7 separate regions of the Homo sapiens genome follow, and all the other regions are linked to region 4. The links are contacts of gene promoters, found by promoter capture Hi-C in blood cells and fetal thymus (Javierre and others, 2016). All regions are on one chromosome and are shown on one strand. Each heading gives the region's core, a stretch centred on a gene start or on the middle of the fragment in contact. The rest is flanking DNA. Distances are from core to core; before and after follow the strand shown.

The links. The method cuts DNA at HindIII sites, captures the fragments that hold promoters and counts their contacts. A CHiCAGO score of 5 or more calls a contact.
Region 1: a contact is called between a fragment that was not itself captured here and the fragment with the promoter of C7orf33 in region 4, in 1 of 17 cell types (activated CD4 T cells). The highest score is 6.3, in activated CD4 T cells.
Region 2: a fragment that was not itself captured here is called in contact with the fragment with the promoter of C7orf33 in region 4 in 2 of 17 cell types (total CD4 T cells and activated CD4 T cells); the score reaches 6.2 in total CD4 T cells.
Region 3: a fragment that was not itself captured here is called in contact with the fragment with the promoter of C7orf33 in region 4 in 4 of 17 cell types (total CD4 T cells, activated CD4 T cells, non-activated CD4 T cells and 1 more); the score reaches 6.7 in total CD4 T cells.
Region 5: a contact is called between a fragment that was not itself captured here and the fragment with the promoter of C7orf33 in region 4, in 1 of 17 cell types (activated CD4 T cells). The highest score is 5.9, in activated CD4 T cells.
Region 6: a contact is called between a fragment that was not itself captured here and the fragment with the promoter of C7orf33 in region 4, in 17 of 17 cell types (activated CD4 T cells, naive CD8 T cells, total CD4 T cells and 14 more). The highest score is 29.4, in activated CD4 T cells.
Region 7: a fragment that was not itself captured here is called in contact with the fragment with the promoter of C7orf33 in region 4 in 8 of 17 cell types (activated CD4 T cells, naive CD4 T cells, non-activated CD4 T cells and 5 more); the score reaches 9.6 in activated CD4 T cells.

The regions. Positions count from the first base shown.
Region 1 is chr7:149,042,682-149,046,050 of GRCh38, forward strand. No RefSeq gene overlaps it. Among named protein-coding and RNA genes, the nearest start is that of PDIA4, 16 kb to the left of the region's middle. The HindIII fragment of the contact is 8,171 bases long and covers 1-3,369 here.
Region 2 is chr7:148,944,153-148,947,460 of GRCh38, forward strand. No RefSeq gene overlaps it. Among named protein-coding and RNA genes, the nearest start is that of GHET1, 42 kb to the right of the region's middle. The HindIII fragment of the contact is 8,358 bases long and covers 1-3,308 here.
Region 3 is chr7:149,059,865-149,063,406 of GRCh38, forward strand. No RefSeq gene overlaps it. Among named protein-coding and RNA genes, the nearest start is that of ZNF786, 29 kb to the right of the region's middle. The HindIII fragment of the contact is 5,726 bases long and covers 1-3,542 here.
Region 4 is chr7:148,589,106-148,592,514 of GRCh38, forward strand. C7orf33 (chromosome 7 open reading frame 33) reads left to right here and starts at 1,661. Exons shown (of 3, transcript NM_145304.4): 1 at 1,661-2,024. The coding sequence starts at 1,821. The HindIII fragment of the contact is 1,806 bases long and covers 604-2,409 here.
Region 5 is chr7:149,011,167-149,014,672 of GRCh38, forward strand. It overlaps PDIA4 (protein disulfide isomerase family A member 4), which reads right to left. Exons shown (of 10, transcript NM_004911.5): 5 at 989-1,194; 6 at 680-838. Among named protein-coding and RNA genes, the nearest start is that of PDIA4, 16 kb to the right of the region's middle. RefSeq lists a silencer at 1,645-1,811. The HindIII fragment of the contact is 2,555 bases long and covers 551-3,105 here.
Region 6 is chr7:148,960,035-148,963,514 of GRCh38, forward strand. It overlaps RNY4. Among named protein-coding and RNA genes, the nearest start is that of GHET1, 26 kb to the right of the region's middle. The HindIII fragment of the contact is 4,489 bases long and covers 1-3,480 here.
Region 7 is chr7:148,981,781-148,985,013 of GRCh38, forward strand. It overlaps RNY3. Among named protein-coding and RNA genes, the nearest start is that of GHET1, 4.1 kb to the right of the region's middle. RefSeq lists a silencer at 1,578-1,677. The HindIII fragment of the contact is 1,142 bases long and covers 1,269-2,410 here.

The DNA.
Region 1 (3,369 bases), core at 592-3,091, 450 kb after region 4:
AAGGGAGGGAAGGGAAGGGATGGCTCCAGGATAAATGTTGTCAGGAATGCTGCAGGTAGCAGCTCTCACCAGCATCTAACTGAAATAAAAGGGCCTTGTTGCTCAGAGCCCAACGGCTGTTCCAACTGTTTTCCAAGGGGCTGGACAACAATGTCCAAGAAGTAAGCAGTGGAGCTGGCTGGGTTGTAGTTTAGGAAGCAAATGCCAGAAGACAGTGGGAGCCCTGGAGTGTGGAATGGGGAGTCTGGGACTGGAGGGCTGCAGATATTAGTCTCAGTTCCCTCCTTACAAGGACTTGGATCTGCCTTCCGTCAAAATCACACATGAACTGTTTTAACCAAAAACACATTTCTGACCAGGCACAATGTTGCCCAGGCTGGTCTCCAGCTTCCAGGCTCAAGCGATCCTCCCACCTCGGCCTCCCACAGTGCTGGGATTACAGGCCTGAGCCACACACCACCTAAAGTCATTTTAAAAAATAGATTTAGAGGCCAGGTGTGGTGGCTCACGCCTGTAATCCCAGCACTTTGGGAGGCTGAGGCGGGCAGATCACTTGAGGCCAGGAGTTTGAGACCAGCTTGGGCAATACAGTGGGATCCTGTCTCTACTAAAAATACAAAAATTAGCCGGCCATGGTGGTGCATGCCTGTAATACCAGCTACTTGGGAGGCCGAGGCATGAGAATTCCTTGAACCCAGAAGGCGGAGGTTGCAGTGAGCCGAGATCACACCATTGCACTCTAGCCTGAGTGAAGAGCAAGACTCTGTCTCAAAAAATGAATAAATAATTAAAAAATTGGCCAGGCACGGTGGCTCATGCCTATAATCCCAGCACTTTGGGAGGCCGAGGTGGGCGGATCACGAGGTCAGGAGATGGAGACCATCCTGGCTAACGTGGTGAAACCCCCTCTCTACTAAAAATACAAAAAAATTAGCTGGGCGTGGTGGTGGGCGCCTGTAGTCCTCAGCTCAGGCTGAGGCAGGAGAATGGCGTGAACCGGAGAGGAGGAGCTTGCAGTGAGCTGAGATAGCACCACTGCACTCCAGCCTGGGCGACAGAGCGAGACTCTCTCGAAAAAAAAAAAAAAAAAGATTTGGAAGTACAGCATGGTGACTACAGTTAACAATATCGTGTTGTATACCTGAGACGTGCAGAGAGTAGGTCTCAAGTGTCCTCACCACACAAATGGTAACTAGGGAAGGTGGAAGATATGTTATAGCTTGGTCATGGTCATCATTTCACAGTGTACATGAATATCAGATCATCACTACACATTAAATATATGCAATGTTTATTTTTCAGTGAGACCTCAAAAAAGCAGTAAAAATGTTTAAAGATATGGAAATAAGTGTATGTGTAAAGATGTCTCTGTGCTCCAGGTATGCATGTGTTCCATGTATGCACGTGTGTTCTATGTTCACATGTGTGATCCATGTACGCACGTGTGTTCTGTGTTCACATGTGCTTCATGTGTGTACGTGTGTTCTGTGTTCGCATGTGCTCCATGTGTGCACTGTGTTCTGTGTTCGCATGTGTGTTCTGTGTTTGCATGTGTGTTCCATGTATGCACATCCTAGCTCTGCCCACTGAGAGGACCTAGACATGGCCACACTTAAATAGCCACGAGCACATCCCGTGTCCAGTTCTTGGCTTCTAACCATTCTCCATTAAAAGGAGCAAGGGCTCCTTTGAGAAATGGTTGATTGCAGTATCAGGACAGGGAAAATATAAATGAACCCAGAACATCTTTTTGTGCCAGAGAGAGCAAGGAAGTTGCCCAAAGAATGCCAGGGACATGCAAAAGGCACAGATGTCTGTGTACAGGGCTCCCACTGGCCAAATCTGAGACAGAGCATCAAAATAATGAGAGAGAAGGATTACAATGCATGGGATAAAACAGGACTACAGGAAATGATGAGTCATAGAGGTATAAAATCTGCAGAGGAATAAATGAAAAACTCCATGAGGAATGGGATATTCACATGATTTCAAATTACCCCCACAAAAATCACAAAAATACTAGAAAGTTATCAAGACGGGGGAAAAGGGGCCAGGCGCGGTGGCTCACGCCTGTAATCCCAGCACTTTGGGAGGCCGAGGTGGGCGGATCACGAGGTCAGGAGATCGAGACTGTCCTGGCTAACACAGTGAAACCCCGTCTCTACTAAAAATACAAAAAAATTAGCCGGGCGTGGTGGCGGGCGCCTGTAGTCCCAGCTACTTGGGAGGCTGAGGCAGGAGACTGGCGTGAACCTGGGAGGCGGAGCTTGCAGTGAGCCGAGATCGCGCCACTGCACTCCAGCCTGGGCGACAAAGTGAGACTCCATCTCAAAAAATAAAAAATAAAAAAATAAAAAGGGGGGGAAGCAACTTCCTTATTTATAGTGGAAGAATCTGGCAGACACTAACTTAAGTGATGAAAGTGAACATCACCAGTAATGAAACAAATTGGAATCGTGTGCCACCTGCTGAGTTGCAACAGAACACAGAATCGCTTCTGGACATGCTCCTCAAGAAATGACCCTGAACTTTCTCAGGAAGACAGACATAGCAGACACACCCAAATTAAGGGGCATTTGACAAAATAACTTTTCTGTAGTCCTGAAGAGCAGCAAGGCCACGGAAGTCAAGGACAGACTGAGACTGTTCTAGACTGAAAGAGACTAGAGAGACAGGACAGCTGAATACAGCAGGCGACTCTAAACTGGCTCCTTTTGCGAAAAGGACATTATTAGAACGATTGTCAAAACGTGAAGGGGCCCTAAGGATTGGCAGTTTCATTCCAGTTTCCTGGTTTTCATGGTTATGGTATCATTTTGATGGTATCACTCCAGTTTCCTGATTTTGATGGTGCCATTGTGGTTATGTAGGAGAATGTCCTTGTTTGGAGGGTAATGGAGCCTCAGGCAATTTACTCTCAAATGGCTGAGAATAAAAGTTCTATGCATTGTACTTCCAAGAATTGAGAGGACAGGATAAAGATGGATGGGCTTGGGAGGCCAAGGTGGGCAGATCACGAGGTCAGGAGTTCGAGACTAGCCTGGCCAACATGGTGAAACCCTGTCTCTACTAAAAATACAAAAATTAGCTGGGCGTGGTGGCGGGGGCCTGTAATCCCAGCTACTCAGGAGGCTGAGGCAGGAGAATTGCTTGAAACCAGAAGGCGGAGGTTGCAGTGAGCCGAGATTGTGCCACTGTACTCCAGCCTAGGCAATAAGAGCTAAACTCCAACTCAGGAAAAAATAAAAAAATTAAAAAAATTTAAAAAATACGGATGGGAATTATTTTACTAAGTGCAATCATGCTCTTCATACTATTCTTTTTTTTTTTTTTTAATAGATATGGGGGTGGTGGTCTCACTATGTTGCC
Region 2 (3,308 bases), core at 485-2,984, 360 kb after region 4:
AAATATAACATATATTATGTATATATTATGTATATAATATAACATATATTATGTATATATTATGTATATAACATATATTATGTATATATTATGTATATAATATAACATATATTATGTATATATTATGTATATAATATAACATATATTATGTATATATTATGTATATAACATATATTATGTATATATTATGTATATAATATAACATATATTATGTATATATTATGTATATAATATAACATATATTATGTATATATTATGTATATAATATAACATATATTATGTATATATTATGTATATAATATAACATATATTATGTATATATTATGTATATAATATAACATATATTATGTATATATTATGTATATAATATAACATATATTATGTATATATTATGTATATAATATAACATATATTATGTATATATTATGTATATAATATAACATATATTATGTATATATTATGTATATAATATAACATATATTATGTATATATTATGTATATAATATAACATATATTATGTATATATTATGTATATAATATAACATATATTATGTATATAACATAACATATACTATGTATATAACATATGTATATAACATATATTATGTATATAGTATAATATAGATATTATGTATAATGTATATAATAGATATTATGTATAATGTATATGATAGATATGTATAATGTATATGATAGATATTATGTATAATGTATATGATAGATATTATGTATAATGTATACGATAGATATTATGTATAATGTATATGATAGATATGTATAATGTATGATAGATTATATAATGTATATGATAGATTATATATAATGTATATGATAGATATTATATATAATGTATATGATAGATATTATATATAATGTATATGATAGATATTATATAGTGTATATGATATGATATATTACATATAGTGTATATGATATGATATATATTATATATTGTGTATATGATATGATATATATTATATAGTATATATGATATGGTATATTATATATTGTGTATATGATATGATATATATTATATATTGTGTATATAATATAAGGAAAAAAGTAGCATCCTTACAGAACATGAAAAACGTAAAAACAACCATAGAGAGAGAGAGAGAGAGAAAGATATCTTGTTGAAATGAATGCTATCATCCCTTGCATTTCAGGGAACTCTGCAAGGATCCTGCCTCCTGGCACTAATTTTTTTGTGCCCTTGTGTAATTCCCTCTTCCTGAGTGTAATCTGAACTTACTGACTCATTTCTAAGGAATAGAATAAGACAAAAGTAAAGTGCCTCTCTCCTTTGCCGGGGAAAGCCAGCTGTCACGTACTGAACAGCCCTACAGAGGCAAAGAGCTATATATGCAGCCAACAGCCAGGGAGGCCCTGAGCACTGTGAGAGGGCTTGCGGCCAATCTCTCCCCAACTGAGCCTTGAGATGACCACAACCGTGGACCACACCTTCATTTCAAGCCTGTGGGAGACCCTGAGCCTGAGCACCCAGCTAACTGTGGCCAGATTCCTGACCCACAGCTAGTGTGAGGAAATCAATGTTAGTTGTTAAGTGTTGGGTTTGTTTGTTATGCAGCCATCAATAACTAATACATGCACTTTACCAAGAAGTGCTGCCATTGCTGAAGCATATTTGGAACCCTTCTGTTTTGAAAGTCTCCTTCAAAGTTGAAGTGTGACCCATGCAAGAAAATGGGTCGTGTTATTTTACATCACTTCATTTTTGCCAAGACAGTGCTTCCCATTGCGTTATCATATTCAACGTCCTTGACTTTGATGGACTCTGGACCGTTTTAAAAAGCAAATCTATCTTCAAAAGAGGAAAATTTGCTGCCCCAGAGATACCAAAAAGAATATTCCACGGCTTCTGAAGACAAACTCATTTGGTTTTATTTATTATTTTATTTTATTTACCTTTGAGTTGCAATCTCACTCTGTCACCCAGCCTGGAGTGCAGTGGCATGCACTCATGGCTCACTGCAGCCTCGAACCCCTGGGCTCAAATGATCCTCCCACCTCAGCCTTCCAAGTCACTGGGACTACAGGCACGTGCCACCATGCCTGGATAATTTTTAAAAAATATTTTCGAGGCCAGGCACGGTGGCTCAAGCCTGTAAACCCCAGCACTTTGGAAAGAGGCCGAGGAGGGCACATCACGAGGTCAGGAGTTTGAGACCAGCCTGGCCAATATGGTGAAACCTCATCTCTATTAAAAATACAAAAATTAGCAGGGCGTGGTGGTGCGCATCTGTAGTCCCAGCTACTCGAGAGGCTGAGGCAGAAGAATCACTTGAACCTGGGAGGCGGAGGTTGCCATGAGCCGAGATCGTGCCACTGCACTCCAGCCTGGGCAACAGAGCGAGACCTTGTCTCAAAAAACAAACAAAAATTTTTCGTATCCATCTCTGAAGTATCTGGGGAAAAAAAGAAAATAAAAATATTTTTGTGGCTGGGCACAGTGGCTTACGCCTGTAATCCCAACATGTTGGGAGGCCAAGGTGGGCGGATCATGAGGTCAGGAGTTCGAGACCAGCCTGGACAATATGTGAAACCCCTCCTCTACTAAAAATACAAAAATTAGCTTGACGTGGTGGCGCGCACTTGTAATCCCAGCTACTCAGGAGACTGAGGCAGGAGAATTGCTCGAACCGAGGAGGTGGAGGTGGCAGTGAGTTGAGATCACACCATTGCACTCCACCCTGGGTGACAGAGTGAGACTCCGTCTCAAAAAAATATGTATATATATTGGGATCTCAAAATTCTGGCCTCAATTGATCCTCCTGCCTTGGGCTCCAAGTTTTTATTTTGCTTTGTTTTGAGACAGGGTCTCATTTTGTCACCCAGGCTGGAGTGCAGTGATGCGATCTCGGCTCACTGCAGCCTCGAACTTCTGGGTTCAAGTGATCCTCCCACCTCAACCTTCAGAGTAGTTGGGACTACAGCGCAGGCCGCCTGGTTAGCTTTGTATCCCAAGATTTTGAATACATTTTGATCAATGGCTGTATCCTTGGAGTAATTTTTCCAAGCGATTATTTTGAAATGGATAATAGAGTATTTACTTTGGATATTGAATGCACCAATTCCTCAATGAATGAGTTGTGCTGTGTTTATTTATTTAGTATCTAACAAAAATATAACACTTCCTACTGATGATAACTCTATGTGGTAGGTGCCATTATGCCTGTTTTACAGCTGAGGAAACTGAGGTAGAGGAGTGGCCCACGGGCACACAGCAAGTACGTGGCACAGTAGGAATCTAATCCAGGCAGTCTGGCTTCTGGGACTTTGCACTTTAC
Region 3 (3,542 bases), core at 605-3,104, 470 kb after region 4:
CCGAGATAGCGCCACTGCACTCCAGCCTGGGGGACAGAGCAAGACTCTGTCTCAAAAAAAAAAAAAAAAAAAAAAAGGCCGTTGTAATCCCACCTACGTGGGAGGCTGAAGCACGAGACTTGCTTGAACCCAGAGCAAGACTCCATCTCAAAAAAAAAAAAAAAAAAATTAGCCATCGTAATCCCAGCTACTTGGGAGGCCGAGGCATGAGAATTGCTTGAACCCGGGAGGTGGAGGTTGCAGTGAGCCAAGATCCAGTCACTGCACTCCAGCCTCAAAAAAAGCAAGACTCCATCTCAAAAAAAAAAAAAAAAAAAATCAAAAGAAGGATGTTTCATGGCATGTAAAAATGATATGTAATGCAAGTTTCAGAACTCATGAATAAATTTCTATTGGCACACAGCCACTCTCACTTGTTTATGTATCTTTTATGCTGCTTTCATGTTGTAACAGGAGAGTTAGAGTTGAGAAGTTGCAGCAGAAATAGCTTCTTATCTAGCCATTTTGCTTCCAGTTTCTCCAGATTCATTCAACCTACATCATGTGATCAGTTAACTTTCCAATATACAGATCATTCCCTTCTCATTTCTAAAGCCCCTGTGGCAGCCTAATGCCTTTAGGATGCAGGCCAAATCCAATGCAGCATTCAAGGCCGTCCATGAGCTGGCCTCACACAGGTTATTTCCTGCCATTTTCCCCCAAAGAATCCTATGATCTAGCCACAAAAGATGACAGGGCAGTCTTGAACGCACTCCATTTTCACCACCCTTTGTCTTTTCTCAAACCCTCTTGAAATGCCCTCTCCCATCTCCTTAACCCAGGAAAATATTTTTTTCTTTCTCTTTTTAAATCATTTAAGGCCTAGAGCAACCGACTTTTCCTTAGTGAAACCTACACAGGAAGAATTAATTGCTCCGTCCTTTGTATAAGAAATTCACAATACTTCCCAAAGTGAATTCCACAGAATTCCAGTCCTAAAGGGTGTGGCTACCAAATATTTGTAAAAAGTGTTCTCAGCCAGGTGCGGTGGCTCATGCCTGTGATCCCAGCACTTTGGGAAGCCGAGGTAGGCAGATCACCTGAGGTCAGGAGTTCGAGAACAGCCTGACCAACATGGTGAAACCCCATCTCTACTAAAAATACAAAAATTAGGCCGGGAGCGGTGGCTCACGCCTGTAATCCCAGTACTTTGGAGGCCAAGCGGGGCACATTGTCTGAGCTCAGGAGTTCGCGACCAGCCTGGGCATCTGGTGAAACCCCATCTCTAGTAAAAATACAAAAACTTAGCCAGGCGTGGCGGTGTGCTAATTTTCCCAGCTACTTGGGAGGCTGAAGCAGGAGAATTGCTTGAACCTGGGAGGCGGAGGTTGCAGTGAGCCTAGATCACGCCACTGCACTCCGGCCTGGGCAACAGAGCAAGACTCCATCTTAAAAAACTAAAAAAAAATAAAAAATACAGGCCAGGCGCAATAGCTCACGCCTGTAATCAATGCTCATCTTTCCAGAATTGGGAGGCTGAGCCGGGCAGATCACCTGAGGTCAGGGGTTCGAAAACAGCCTGACCAACATGGAGAAACCCCGTCTCTACTAAAAAAATACAAAATTAGCGGGGTGTGGTGGCACATGCCTGTAATCCCAGCTACTTGGGAGGCTGAGGCAGGAGAATCGCTTGAACCCGGGAGACAGAGGTTGCGGTGAGCCAAGCCCCCTTGCGCCATTGCACTCCAGCCTGGGCAACAAGAGCGAAATTCCGTCTCCAAAAAAAAAAAAATTAGCCGGGCATGGTAGCAGGCGCCTGTAATCCCAGCTACTCCGGAGGCTGAGGCACAAGAATCACTTGAATCTGGGAGGCCAGAGCTGCAGTGAGCCAAGACCGCCCCATTGTACTCCAGCCTGGGCAACAAGAGCGAAACTCTGTTAAAAAAAAAACAAAAAAAGTTGGGGGGGGGGCGGTTCTCAGATGAAATAAACTTGGGAAATGACAGATTAAACAAAGTTTAACAGGTTTATTTGTTGCAGGGCCTCTCTGAGCCTTTAAAAATGCTGACAGCGTGGCCAGGCACGGTGGCTCAGGCCTATAATCCCAGCACTTCGGGAGGCCGAGGTGGGATGATTATCGGAGGTCAGGAGTTCGAGACCATCTTGGCCAATATGGTGAAATCCCATCTCTACTAAAAATACAAAATTAGCTGGGCCTTGTGCGCGCGCCTGTAATCCCAGCTACTCGAGAGGCTGAGGCAGGAGAATCGCTTGAACCCAGGAGGCGGAAGTTTCAGTGAGCCGAGATTGTGCCATTGCACTCCAGCCTGGGCAACAAGAGTGAAACTCTGTCTCAAAAAAAAAGAAAAAAGAAAAAATGCTGAGGGCAATTGTAAATCTGCCTTATCTGGAGAACACCTTTGGGAACATGAAGTGAAATTGGGGCCATTGGCAACTATCATTCTCAGCATATGAAAGAAACCTATGCAGTTGGAGAAAATAAGGTCAACACAGAGGGAAGCAAAACTAAGAAGAAAGAGCACAAAAGTGCCCTGAACCACGGCGTGAGCCCCTGCACCCAGCCAGCTGTGAAGACAATCCGACCACTGGGCTTCCTATTACATGAACCTATAAGCTACTTTTTATTTTTCCTTTAGGTACTTTGAGCTGAGTTTCTGTCATCTGCAAGCAAAAGTGCCCTCACGCAATACATATGCCTTTTTTTTTTTTTTTTTTTTTTGAGATGGAGTCTCACTCTGTCACCCAGGCTGCAGTGCAGGGGCATGATCTCAGCTCCCTGCAACCTCCACCTCCCGGATTCAAGCAATTAATTCTCCTGCCTTAGCCTCCCCAGTAGCTGGGATTACAGGCGCCCACAACCATGCGTGGCTAATTTTTGTATTTTTAGTAGAGACCGGGTTTCACTATGTTGGCCAGGCTGGTCTCAAACTCCTGACCTCAGGAGATCTGCCCGCCTTGGCCTCCCAAAGTCCTGGGATCACAAGTGTGAGCCACTGCACCCGGCCCATATGTCTCTCTCAGTGGGCTATTTGCCCCATGAAGGTAGGGACTATATTTTATTTATCTTTCTACTTACCCCAGAATCTGATACATGGGAAGTATGCAATAAGTGTTTATTGATTTCTCCTGAATTAAATAAAGGAATGAAAATTCTGGAAAGATGAGCATTGATTTAACTGGCACATACACTTCTGGCTGTTTTGTGGGTTGCGTTCTAAGACAATAAAGCCAAAATGCAGAGACCCTAAGAAATTGGTGGCAATAAAGCATTTGATTAAGGTATTATAAGGCAAATAGGATACTTGGAAGACATGAACTAGGCATAATTATCAAGGAAATAATTTTTCTCAGGATATCCTACTGATAAGTAGGTTGCTGTCTCCAGAGGCCAACCAAGCAGCCAACAGAAAGAACAGGTAACCTGCAGAGACTTGCTTAGTCTCTGATTTCATGAATTACTCTCAAATTTTCAACAAAAACCCATCTTGCCTAGAGAGATCAGAGCTTCACAGATACTCCTCATCCCCTGCTTGTAAAGTTCC
Region 4 (3,409 bases), core at 411-2,910:
GATGTGCTAATCACAGAATTGCACAGGTACTCCCTGAATCCAACTTGGGTTATTAAAACAACAATGAGGCTTAGGCATTTGGCTCAGTCCACCCCCAGGGTGACCAGCTGGTCACCTCACTCCGCAACCCAAATCCAGGGGATTCATTCGTTGTCTAGGAATAACTTCTTCCACCTTGGGAATTCTCTGATTTACTCTTACCTAGGTCCACTGGTCTTGACCAAAATGTGAGGTGTCCTTAACTTAAGGTTTTGACTTTTAAGAGGCAGTCGAGGAAATAATATTATGAGGTCTGTCTATTTCTTTAGTGGTCAAAGACAGATAAGTAAAAAGGCAAAGCTAGAGTCCGAATGTATGGCTGCAGGTTCAAGATTCCAGGCCAAGTTCTTGGAACTCCAGCACCTCTAGACTCACCAGCCCCACCAGCCCCTCTGGCCCCTCCAGCCCCACCAGCCCCACCAGCCCCACCAGCCCCTCCAGCCCCTCCAGCTCTGCTGCAGGAAATCCTGCCTCAGGGAATCATGATGCACCACCCAAGGAAGTATTTGCAGAAAAAAGAGATTCCATTATTGCCTTCCCTCAAGGGTGGTGTTGAGCCCATTAAGCTTTTCCCCAGCAGTACACAGAGTAATCTTAGGGATTCTGGTGGGAAAAATATCCCAAATTCTGCTTCCTTATGCTTCACCACATGACCCTAGGGCACACGCACTAATCAAGAACAGCCCAGGGCATCCTGTCACCCCCCACGGTGCACCTGCAAACTGGCTTTTACAGCAACCTTGTCTTCCAAATGGGTCCGTATCTTTCTAGGCATCTTTTGTAATGCTAACCTGTTTGGCATTACCCAGAAATGCTAACATTTCTACCACTTTAACTAATCTTAAGAGATTAAATCACACTCCATGATACTCCTGACAACAAATAGCATTTTAACCAGTAATTTACGATAAGAAGATTTTCAATCAGTGGGCTAAGCCCTTCCCTGGTGATTTAAGAAACTGCCAGCCTCGATGGAGATTCTTCCATCAATTCCTCATCATTATAAAAGAAACAATGGAGGAAAAACTCATCCAATTAAGTGACAATTCCAATGTGTAAATCTTGTAATATTTTTTGCATTTGTGATATGGGTTCTACACTAAAAATGCAACTTGTCTAATCTGAATGAGATGAAAAATCCTGAAAAAGGATGTTATCCTCAATATTTTGTTTGTGCCTCTTGATTTAGTAAACTCCCAACCACTTTTTCATCCTTCCCTGCCAAACCCCGCTACAAAATGTTTCTCATTATGACCTGAGACATTAATTCTGATTGTAGAGGTTTTAGATCATTTCTTCTAGGTGTTAATCAGTTCTGGCCATATGGTGAGGGTGAGGTAATCATTATTACTTTACAATGAATGCCCTTAATTACTTTTTCAGTAGTAATATTAGTCCTTCTGTTTATTTGAGTACCTAAGAGCTGCAGGCAACGTGATCTGAATTACATGGAGGACAAGCTCCAGCTGACTTTCCGTAAACTCGCATTAGGATTCTAATAGGAGACGACAGGAGCAGGTGGGGATAATGAGCTGGCGGAAGGGGCTGCCTATCACACTGCTCGGTGGCCCCTCTTTCACCCCCACTTTGCCTCAGGCATTTTCTACTCAGCTGTGACCTTACTTATGGTGATGCCAATCCAGTGGTCAGGAGCGAGGCGCCCAGCCTGTGTCTGAATCCTCCTACTGACCCTGGGGATCCGTGCGACTTGATCTTAGATATTGGTGGTGAAGCGCCGCTCTCCTTGACAGCATCCAGGAAAGGTAATTACCTTTGCCAAAATGCAAGTGGAAGTTCAAAGCCTCAGCCTTGAAGAGTGTCCCTGGAGACTTCCAGGCCCCCAATGTGAATGTGAAGCCCTCCTGCCCAGTGGGGCAAGGCGCCGGATTGACCTTCGCCTGAGTGGGAGGGCAGTCGCTGTTTGGGTCCACGTTAGGGGCGGTCCAGGTCAATTTAACTTGTCATATGCCACGGGAAGACATAAGGTAAGTTAATGATTCTAAGATGAATCAACTGCTCTTTGAGTCAGTCAGTATCTCTTGAGAATTCATTCACTCAATCCATGAATGTTTTTGACTCTCTACTATGTGTTATGGAACTGGGCTTAACGACATTGAAGTAAAGAGAGAGACAGAGATTAATTCACTGCCCCAAAGAAGGCCTGGAATCTTCTTAGGGAAAAGAATCCTCACAAAACACTCCACTGAGTATTCTTGTGTTTAGCCTGAGTCATGTTGATTTGAAAAATTCCAGCGTAAAAATTGTATATTTTCACACAGTGTGGTAGAAGGAATGCGCTTGTTCTCAGACTATGTTTTGCCCTGGAGATGGGTCCACAGGAAGCCTCTATCTTGGTCACCCTTTGGCACAAGCTTTGCACCTGTTCCCTTCTCCTTGCCTAGATTCTTGTCTCTTCTCTCGCTTTAAAGACCAGGAGTTGTTGTTGTTGTTTTAGAGATAGTATCTTGCTCTGTCACCCAGGCTGGAGTGCAGTGTCACAATCATAGCTCACTGCAGCATCAACCTCCTGGCTTCAAGTGATCCTCCCAGAGGAGCCTCCCGGGTGGCTAGGACTACAGCCATGTGCCATCAGGCTTAGCTAATTTTTTTATTTTTTGTAGAAATGGGGTCTTGCCATGTTGCCCAGGCTGGTCTTGAACTCCTGTCCTCAAACGATCCTCCCACTTCAACATCCCGAAGTGCCACCCATGCCCAGCAAGACCTGGATCCTTAACTCTTTGCCTGTCTTTGATCTTTGACACCTCCTGATCCCCAAGCCCCTGCCTCCCACTAGGCAGGCATTTTTGGTTAAAGTATGAGCTCCCACTTTGTATTTATCTCCAGCTTTGGGTGTTCAGTTTGATGGGAACCACAGGTGTCCCCACCTAGTTCTCCAGCCCTAATTTGTTTTCTCCCATGTTGCAGTTCCTGGCTTCTTCCCATTTGCCCACACCCTCATTGTGGCACAGTGCCCCAAACTGACACATGCCACAGGCTCAGAGTATCTTCTGATATGAAGAATGACTCTGGTCATTCGAGGGCAGAGAGGATTTCATGACCTTTCCCTGAGAACAGCAGCATGAACTGCAGGGTCAGCAAGGGGGTTGTGTCTGCCTGCTGCTAAGGTCAGATGCAGACAGCCCATGTCAGGGAAAGCCCATTTAGCATAAGAAGAGTAAAAAGAAGAAAATACCTCCTCAGCCAGGGGTACTTTGATGTGAACCAATACAATTAGTCTCTGAATGATGAATATAAATGATAATCAATGACGTATATGTGCTTAAAAGAAGGTGAGAAAAGATTATCACTGCCTAAACCTTCCTTTTAAAGGATGCCACAAGTGCATGGGTGGAGCATATAGGGTAGATAG
Region 5 (3,506 bases), core at 578-3,077, 420 kb after region 4:
GTGTAGTGGGAGAGGGTAGCACTCAGAAGACATCAATGAGGATGGCCAGGACCCTGAGTACACCTGTCCCCAGGCATCAGGAGCCAGACCAAGGCAGACGATGGATTTCAGGATGGGGCAACTGCTGCCTGCCCCTACCCCAACAGAACACTATTGCTGACAGCTGTTCACAGTCATTTCACTCCTCAGGCTAGCAAGACTAGCATTTATAATACACTTAGCATTATCAAGTACATTGCTAAGCTCTTCATCTACATTATCTCAGTGTAATAACCTCTCAGAAAAGACCACCACCTTGGGCAAGAGACCACTAGGCTAACTGAGTCACCACCTGTGGTCACAGTGATAATAACTGGAAGAGCCAGGCCTTGAAAGCTGGTTTGATTCAGAGGCCGGCACCTTATGGCCTGAAGACCTGCCCTCCTCGGGCTCTGGAAGGCAGACATGGAGCTGGGACCGGTCTGACTGTGCCCCTCCCCTGCACCGAGGCCAGGAGGGCCACAGGGGACCCATCTCCAGCCCCAGCCCCAACTCCAACCCCAGAATGGAAAGCTTATTCCCAGAGATGGCTCATCAAACCACCCCCTAATGGATGTCCCAGGAGCTTTCTGAAAAACCAGGCAACCGCAGACGGCCCAAGGCACGCACATTTTGTTCAGCCCAGAGGGCCACAACTCACCGGCATCCTGGTATTGCTGGTAGGCTGGGTCACTCTCCCCCTTAAAGACCCCGATGATGATGACATCGTCTCCATCCTTCAGGAACTCCTGGACCTGCTTCAGGGTCAGAATCTCCTTGGAGGGAGGCCCGGACTGCTCGATCATGTAATCAACGATTCCTGGGAGCAGGGCACACGCCTGAGCAGGGGCACTAAGAACTGCCCACTTCCCATGGCCCATGCCTGCCAGCCCCCAGCACCTTCAATGGCAGCTTCCTGTTAGGGAGTTTCCCTTCCCCACTGTAGTGGGAGAGAAGGGAGTGGCCATACCATATTTTTCTCGTGGGCCGTTGTAGTCATAAGGCCTTCCTTTGCGGAAAATTTTCAGGGTGGGATAGCCAGAGACATCAAACCTCTTGGCCAGGTCTGTTTCTGCGGTGGCGTCGACCTTTGCCAGGGGAATTGGAGGAGAACGCTTGCTGAGCTCCTTGGCGGCCTTCTCATACTCGGGGGCAAGTTTCTTGCAGTGTCCACACCTGCCAAGAGGAAACTGGTTTGTCAGGGGCTCATTCTAGTGTGGACTCACTTTCTAGCTAAATGAGCTGCAGAAACCCATCCTGTGCTCCCTAGTAACCTGGCCACACCCAGTAAGCCTCCGAATGCCTCCTAGACCCTCAGGCCCTCAGGTGCTGTTGAGGGCGCTACCGCTGGACAGACACAAACTTCATCCCACAGCATTCACACACTGGGGGTGGAGCATGCGTACACACATGTACAGGACACAGACAGGACATTAGTAACTGCGGCACAGGGGAAAACATGGAGAGGCCAAGAGAGACACTGTCCTGAGCAAGAGGACTTTCTTGGTTGGAGAGTTGGGGGCCAGCAAGGATGTAAGTCATAGATGGCTTCAGAGGAGGAGTAGCAGTGGAGCTAGGATCCAAGGGACAGCGAGGAATTAGCCAGGAGCCCACGGGAGGTGGGGCGAAGAGAGGGTCGGCAGGTCCAGGTAACAAGAACAGAGGCATGGAGAACAGAAGAGCGTCACAAACCCTCACTGACACAGACCACCCAGGGAGGAGATGAGGGAGAGTCCCTTGGAGTCAGTATTGCGTCACACAGCCCATTGCCCACAAGAACTGGCCGGGCGCAGTGGCTCACTCCTGTAATCGCAGCACTTTGGGAGGCCGAGGCAGGTGGATCACCTGAGGCCAGGAGTTTGAGACCAGCCTGGCCAACATGGCAATACCCCGTCTCTACTAAAAATACAGAAACTAGCTGGGCATGGTGGTGGGCGCCTGTAATCCCAGCTACTCGGGAGGCTGAGACAGGAGTATCGCTTGAACCCAGGGGGCGGAGGTTGCAGTGAGCCAAGATCGCACCACTGCACTCCAGCCTGGGCAACAGAGCAGGACTCCGTCTCAAAAAAGAACCAACATCCCACACCCAGCTGGGGCCTGGCACACAGGAGGCTCTCAGTCCTGAGTTAAGATAAAACACCATCCTGTCAAAGTCCTTAGGACACCCAAATGAATTAAAGGGTGCATCTTGCAACTTCAAAACCATTTGTTGGCTGGCACAGTAGTTCATTCCTGTAATATCAGTGCTTCCAGAAGCTGAGGCGGGAGGGTCGCTTGAGGCCAGGAGTTCAAGACCAACCGGGGCAACATAGCAAGACCTCATCTCTAAAAATATTTTTTATATTAGCTGGGCGTGGTGGCACACACCTGTGGTCCCAGCTACTAGGGAGGCTGAGGCAGCACAATTGAGCCCAGGAGTTCAAGGCGTAGTGAACTATGATGGTGCCACTGTACTCCAGCCCAGGTGACAAAGCAAGGCCTTATCTCAAAAGAAACCTAAGAAAACAAAACAAAAAAAACAAACAACCTCCCACCACACACACAAAAACACATCAAAAGACCAAAAAACTGTTTGTGAATAAATGGATAATTATCTTCTGAGGCATCATCAACCACTTCAGGGAAATCGCACTACACTCGCTGAGCGTGCACTGTGCAGCAGTCGGCTCAACCTGGCTCCTGAGCGAGCCACAAAGCAACCCACCAGTTAGATGTGCAGCTGCCACTCTCCCTCTCACACCTCCCACCCATCAGGCCAGGGCCCCATGCATAGCGAAACAAGGGTCTGTGTCTCTCCAGCATCGCAAGGGGGTTAGAAGGGTGCCCCACGTGTCCCAGACGCTTCCTTCCTTCTCTCCCAGATCATTTCCTTCTCTAACCACCCACCTGACTTCACTTTTCATCTGCACATCCAGCAACTCCCAGGTTTCTGCTGCAGAATCTGTGGCCTCAGGTTTGGGCTTATCCAGGCATTGCCTGGAACAAGGGTGTCCTGGTCCCAAACCTGACCCCACAGTGCAGAAGGTGCCACCCACCCCCCGGCCTGTGCATCAGCCATGGCCTCCACCTGCTGGTTCTAGGCCCAAAAGCTTCCTCTGCTTACTGACTCTCCCAGACTCCCTACAGAACACACCCATCTGAGGCGGTTCTTGGTGGCCTGATGGTCAGACATACCAGGACTGCTCAAGAACCAGAACCACAGCTGACCCACCACAAAATCACCAAGACAGATGGTACCCTGGGCCGTCTCCTGGGAAGGCAGATGGTCTCTCCTGAAGCCAGGCTCCCCTCTCCCTTGAGAGCCGTCTTCTTCCGCTCTGCTCTCTACTCTGACTGCTGCCAGCTTATCCACGCAACTGGTTGTGCGTCCCTCCCCTCCCCTCCCCATGAAGCAGCCACCTCAGTTCCCCAAGCTGGGCAGCTCAGACCAGCCACTGTACTTGCTCCCACTCCGACCACCTCTCTTTCTGCCATCTTCTTTCCTTTGG
Region 6 (3,480 bases), core at 674-3,173, 370 kb after region 4:
TTTCCAGCATGTTTTGAAGAAAAGTACAAGTTAACTTATGGAAAGTATTTACCTATGACCCCTATGGCCAAATGGCCCAAATTCCTTAAAAAAATGATGATTTTTCCAGGTAGACCAAAGCAAGACTGTGGGGTCTTTGCATTCACTTCCTTTCTGTCTGCCCTCAGGTTCTCAGCAGCACCCAGCTCCAGCCCCAAGGCCTCTCCTGGATGCGCCTCTAGGACCTTGAGCTCAGTGTCTGTTCAACCCCTCACTGAACTCAGTTCTCCACCTCGGCCATTTGAGATGCTTAGTGAAATCCAAGGATGACTTTAATAGTTATTCACACAATATTTCCTTTAAATAAACTTGTTTTAATTAGTTACTTCTTTTTCATTTCTTTTTTTCTTCACCCCTGAGTAGAGATTTATTTCTTCTTATCCATATTGAAGTTTAATTTGTATACAATAAAATGTACCCGTTTTAATTATTCAGTTCAATGACTTTTGGCAAATGTATATGCACATGAAACCACAATCAACTTTTTTGGCCAGGCACGGTGGCTCATGCCTGTAATCCCAGCACTTTGGGAGGCTGAGGTGGGCAGATCACCTGAGGTCAGGAGTTTGAGACCAGCCTGGACAATATGGTGAAACCCTGTCTCTACTAAAAATTACAAAAATTAGCTGGGCGTGGTGGTGCCCACCTGTAATCCCAGCTACTTGGGAGCCTGAGGCATGAGAATTGCTTGAACCTGGGAGGCGGAGGTTGCAGTGAGCCAAGATCATGCCACTGTACTCCAGCCTGGGAGACAGAGCAAGAGCAAGACTCCGTCTCAAAAAAAAAAAAAAAAAAAAAAGCAGCTTAACAAATGGGAGGTGTTAAAGACATATTATCGTCAAACTAAGATTGTTCTTCCTTGAAGAACTTTACTAACTTTACATCCAGTGCTAGCTAAAATTCCTCATACCCCACCAGTGATCCAGCCGTCCATATCTCACACTTTCTATACTCTCTCTAATGGCTCGGAATCTGTTGAGCTGTGTGTCATAGGAAACCCAGTAACAGTGGCTTAAACTCATGCAGATTTAGTGTCCTCTTGTTGCAGAAAGTATGGAGGTGGGCCGTGTCCAGAACTGGAGCAGTGCCCCACCTGTCATCAATGCACCAAGACTTTTTTTTCTTTCTCTTAGGCCTTCCTAAGTGAGGGCTTTTGTTCTCGTGGTCTCAGGATGGCTCTCCAGCCCCACACCCCCAAACCTCATTCCAGGGCAGAGGAAGGAATGCAAGTGTGTCTTCTTTCTCTTCTCTGCTCCTTTTTTATTATTTCAGTCTAATTTTAATGGTTCCAAAAGGAATTGAGGCAATTGCTGGTGGGCAGCCTACCATGTTAAACAGAAGTTGATTATTTATGTTTTAACAAGAGATGTGGCTGGGCGCAGTGGCTCACGCCTGTAATCCCAGCACTTTGGGAGGCCGAGGTGGGCAGATCATGAGGTCAGGAGATTGAGACCATCCTGGCTAACACGGTGAAAACCCGTCTCTACTAAAAACAAAAAATTAGCCAGGCGTGGTGGCAGATGCCTGTAGTCCCAGCTACTCCAGAGGCTGAGGCAGGAGAATGGCGTGAACCCGGGAGGCAGAGCAGCTGGCCAGCCCTCCAGGAAATCTCAGCTAGTCTACTTTGGAAAGTTGTCCTAATCACTGCTGGAGCAATCACCAAGTTGAGGGTAGGGACTGTGTCTTTTCTGTATTCTTCACTCTCTCTCCGGAAGCCTCAGCCCTTCACATCTCTAAGCCCAGGTCCCAGAACAATTATAATTCTCATTCCAATTACTTTAAAAAAATTCCTGGGATTAGCTGAGCTCAATACATATGAAGGTGGGGAATGTTATGCCTTAGAAAGTAACATTTCCAGCCAGGCGCGGTGGCTCATGCCTGTAATCCCAGCACTTTGAGAGGCCGAGGAGAGTGGATCATTTGAGGTCAGGAGTTCGAGATCAGCCTGGAAAACACAGTGAAACCCCGTCTCTACTAAAAATACAAAAATTAGACGGGCATGGTGACATGTGCCTGTAGTCCCAGCTATTTGAGAGACTGAGGCAGGAGAATGGCTTGAACCTAGGAGGAGGTTGCAGTGAGCCGAGATCAGGCCACTGCACTCCAGCCTGGGCAACAGGGCAAGACTCCATCTCAAAAAAAAAAAAAAGAAAGAAAAGAAAGAAAGAAAGTGACATTTCCTAAGCATTCAAGTTAATCATAATCTTGAACATACATTTTCTTCTGTCAGTTGAAACCTTCCAATTATTATTAAAACTAATGGCAAAAACCACAATTACTTTTGCACCAACCTAATACTTTAACATTTGGTATGTTAAAATATGAATGACTTAAAACAGGAAAATTGAGATTTGATAGGCAAAGATAATAATAGTTAAGGTTTATTGATCACTTTCTAATCCTTTTCATTCCTTTTTTTTCTGGTTAATGTGGGATTTCTTACTAAACTCAGTGAGAGTGCTTATATCTAATCATTGAGAGGGATTTGGCTTTCATTGATAAAACCATTGGTAAAAGGCTGTTTTCAGGATTATGGCAACTTCTCAATGCCAGCAGCAACCTGTCTGAAAGGTGAGAGATCTGAGCATATTAAACCTGGCGTACCCATGTGATTTATAGGAACTATTAAGGATTATCAGGAAAAGTCCCAGGAAACAACCAGTGTGAACACAGCGTGTTCGTGGGTGATGTGAATACAGCGTGTTTGTGGGTGATGTGAAAACAGTGTGTTCGTGGGTGAGGAGTTCTCTGGTCCAGGCTCCGTGGGAAAGTGGATGGAAAGTGCATGCTCTGGGCACTGCTGCCATCTGCTGCTGCCTTGATTCAGGAAGGCATTTTGCAGATCACAGGCAGGGAGACGACAAAAAAAAAAACACCAAAGCTCATTTTGTTGACATTAAATGTTCAACGTTTCTATTGCTGGGCATTTGACACAAATATGTTCATTTACTTTTCTTTGATTCATGAATGTCTTCAGGTATTTGCAAAGGACAAGAGGCTTCCATTTGGTAATTTACGTCTATTTCCCATCATGCAACTACATTTATTTTGAATATCAGTTTGCATTAAGCTATTTAAAATTAAAGGAAGATAATCAGATAATGTATGGCTTTTTGCAGTATTATTTTGTAGGGGTCATATAATATCAGACTTTTTGGAGAATTCTTAAAATAACTCATCCTAACTTATTTAGAGTAGCCACTTCAGAGATTTATAAAATGAAAGTGAAAGCAGTTTTTCTGGCTGGTCCGATGGTAGTGGGTTATCAGAACTTATTAACATTAGTGTCACTAAAGTTGGTATACAACCCCCCACTGCTAAATTTGACTGGCTTTTTACCATTTGATTTTGTATTTCAATCAAACAAGCTAACTTTACAAAATATTCATGTTGGGGGGAAAGCATTCTTACATAAATGTCCCCCTCCTTTTCTTTTTAGGG
Region 7 (3,233 bases), core at 590-3,089, 390 kb after region 4:
TCGGCTCACTGCAACTTCCACCTCCTGGCGCAAGCGATTTTCATGTCTCAGCCTCCCGAGCATCTGGGATTACAGGCATCTGCCACCACACCCGGCTAATTTTTGTATTTTAGTAGAGACGGGGTTTTACCATGTTGGCCAGGCTGGTCTCGAACTCCTGACCTCAGATGATCGGTTCGCCTCGGCCTCCCAAAGTGCTGTGATTACAGGCAGGAGCCACCGGTCCGGCCAAAATTTTATATTTTAAAAATCAATTTAAGGCCGGGCATGGTGGCTCACACCTGTAATCTCAGCACTTTGGGAGGCCAAGGCGGGTAGATCATCTGAGGTCAGGAGTTCGAGACTAGCCTGGCTAACATGGTGAAATCCCGTCTCTACTAAAATTACCAAAAAATTAGCCAGGCATGGTGGCGGGTGCCTGTATTCCCAGCTACTCCGGAGGCTGAGGCGGCAGAATCGCTTGAACCCGGGAGGCAGAGGTTGTAGTGAGTAGAGATCGTGCCATTGCACTCCAGCCTGGGCGACAGAGCGAGGAGACCCTGTCTCAAAAAAAGAAAAAAAGGAAAGAAAATTTAAGTGTGTTTAATGTAAAAGTGAAAACACACAGCCTTTACGCAGGGAACACAAGATATAATACTTGGTAGGTGGAAAGTTCATTTCATAACATGAAATCTTTTTCTAAATTTGAAAAAAAAAAACTTTAAAATGGACATATCTTCTTTTTTAAATTGTTAATTGCTTCTTTTAAAATTAATGGACTAATCGCAAAATCCAGTGATACATACTGATTATTTCATGCGTTTTACTGAAAATAATTTTGTAGTAAGAGGATTGTTCAAAATGACCCGCTCTGGGGGTCAAGGGGTCGGGCCCCCACTGCAGAGCCTGGAAAGGCAAAGACCCCCGAGGCTGCGCTCCCCTCGCCCTTCGTGTCGGGTCCTGCCCCACCCGGCAGCTCCTGGGACCCGCTGTGCGGCCCAGGGCTGGGGGCCCAGGCTGCCCCTGCTGAGAAGCCAGGTGCGCGTTCAGCCCCCGGGAGTCTCTCCGAGGCTCTGTGCGCCTCATTCCTCCACGGCGTCACTTTTTAAAAAGATAATTGCTAATTATGTATTTTAAAATGTTAGCTTCCACGGACCGAATGTTTCCCTTTCTGTTTAGAGTGGGGTTCCTAACCTCCTTCCAGAATAGCTCAAGGTCCCCAGTGCAGCCGCTTTGAAACAAAACCACTTGGTAACAGGAGCGCAGGACTATGGCGAAACCGCCAGGAAAGCTTCCTAAAGAGCTCAAACAAAACAAAACAAACCTTGGAAAGCTCAAGAAAAGCATCGTGGGTGACACCAGAATCTGGGACTTCATTCATTCATACATTCATTCATTCATTTTTAAAGAGGGTCGTTGGGAAGGAAAAGGGGAGGGGACGCCGGGCTGCAGGGCTCCTCGCAGGACACACGCTCCCCCTCCACGGGGAACCGGGGGTGGGGGCGCGGGCGTGGGGGGCCGCGCCAGCCCTGCGTGGGGTCCGGGACCACCGAACCGCGGGGACCCCTGATCCCGGGGGGGCCACTGAATTCCAAGGGGCCCCCGCCCGCCCGGCCCCACCCCCGCGGCGGGTTGCCTCTTCCTTCTTAAGAGGACGTCCCCTCCCGCTCTAGACGTCCTGGCCCTGTGAGACTGAGGCCCCGCCGGGGGCACCGTGGGAGTCTTTGATGGATGTGGCTGATGCAGGGTTTCCATGCAAATCACCCACAATGCTTTGAGCAGGGTTGCCCGAGCTCCTTTAATGTCACTGAAGAGAGAAGGACCTTTTTCTTACAAAGTCTATGTGTTTAACAGTTTTATTTTTTAAACATTTGCTTTCTATTTGGGGTGTATTTATACTCTTCCTTTTTTTTAGCTCCTGTGAATAGTCACCGTAACTATGGTAGAGATGGAACTTTCGAGGCTTATATAAGTAGCAGCGTGCCTTTGTGTTTCGGCTGGTCCGAGTGCAGTGGTGTTTACAACTAATTGATCACAACCAGTTACAGATTTCTTTGTTCCTTCTCCACTCCCACTGCTTCACTTGACTAGCCTTTTGCTGTGGTTTTGGGGTGGGAAAGCATTTTCTGTTCCCCAATACAGAACAGCCAAGATCCTGCCTGAAGGTTTTTCTTAAGCACACCACTACTTGCCAGTGAAGATGACTAGTGGACAGAGCACATTAAGTGTTTTTAGGAGCCTGGCATGCTCCGTGTTGAAAAGGGAGGTCCCCTCGTCTCTGAATTGTACCTTGAGAATAAGGAGAACCATAGGTTTAGGTGACCTAAGGAATGAACCATGTCTCACGCACCTCCTTATCCACGGTGTCAGGCATGAAGAAGAGGGATCCAGGAGAGGGCAAAGGTCCGCAGAGTGCAGTGGTAAGAGAGCAAGCTTTTCAAATTGCAAAGTAATGTACATAGCATGATTCTATTTCACACTGAAAAGTAAAACACTTTGCACATCTGTGCTTAAGCTTGTCTGTGTTAATACAGTATTAGCAAGATCAAAGATGAAGAAAATCCCAAGCTGTTAACCTAGAAATGATGCAGACACGAAGCTTTCCTCTTTACTGTGTGGTGGGGAAACTGCTCACCTCGGACACGATGGTTCATGGTATTATCTCTAAACCTGGATCCACCAAGCTTTGCTTTTCTTGTAAAACATAAAGATTTTGGTATTGGAAAATATCCCCTTTCTCTTCGCAAATGCCGCGCTTTTGCAAATCAAAATTATTTTGGCTTCAAACTACTGTCTGTGCAATGACAGTAGGATATAGTGTGCAATATTTGGGACATACTTATGCTAAAAATCTATTTACACTATTGTTCAAATTTGACCAGGCATCCTGTATTTTATCTGACAATCCTATCTTATTCAAATACGTCTTAGGAAAGAACTAATGCCAAACTCTTTTCTTCCTCAAGTTATCATATTACTCTGAGCTGGCCTTATAGTTGCACTGGGCATTCATTATTGCTTTGCAGATATTATCTGGTTAGGAAGTTTCTGGAGATAGGATACATATGTCATCAAGACTGATAGAATTGTGCAGTCTCATATCTGTGGAATGAAATCAACCTAAAGTCAGAGAAATTGACTCTGCTCTCGTGTTAGTTTCGTAGTGTCCATATTAACAGTTATTCCACCATCAACTACATACTTTTTTCTCTCTCTCTCCCTCCCTCCTAACTATCCATCCATCTATCTTTTAG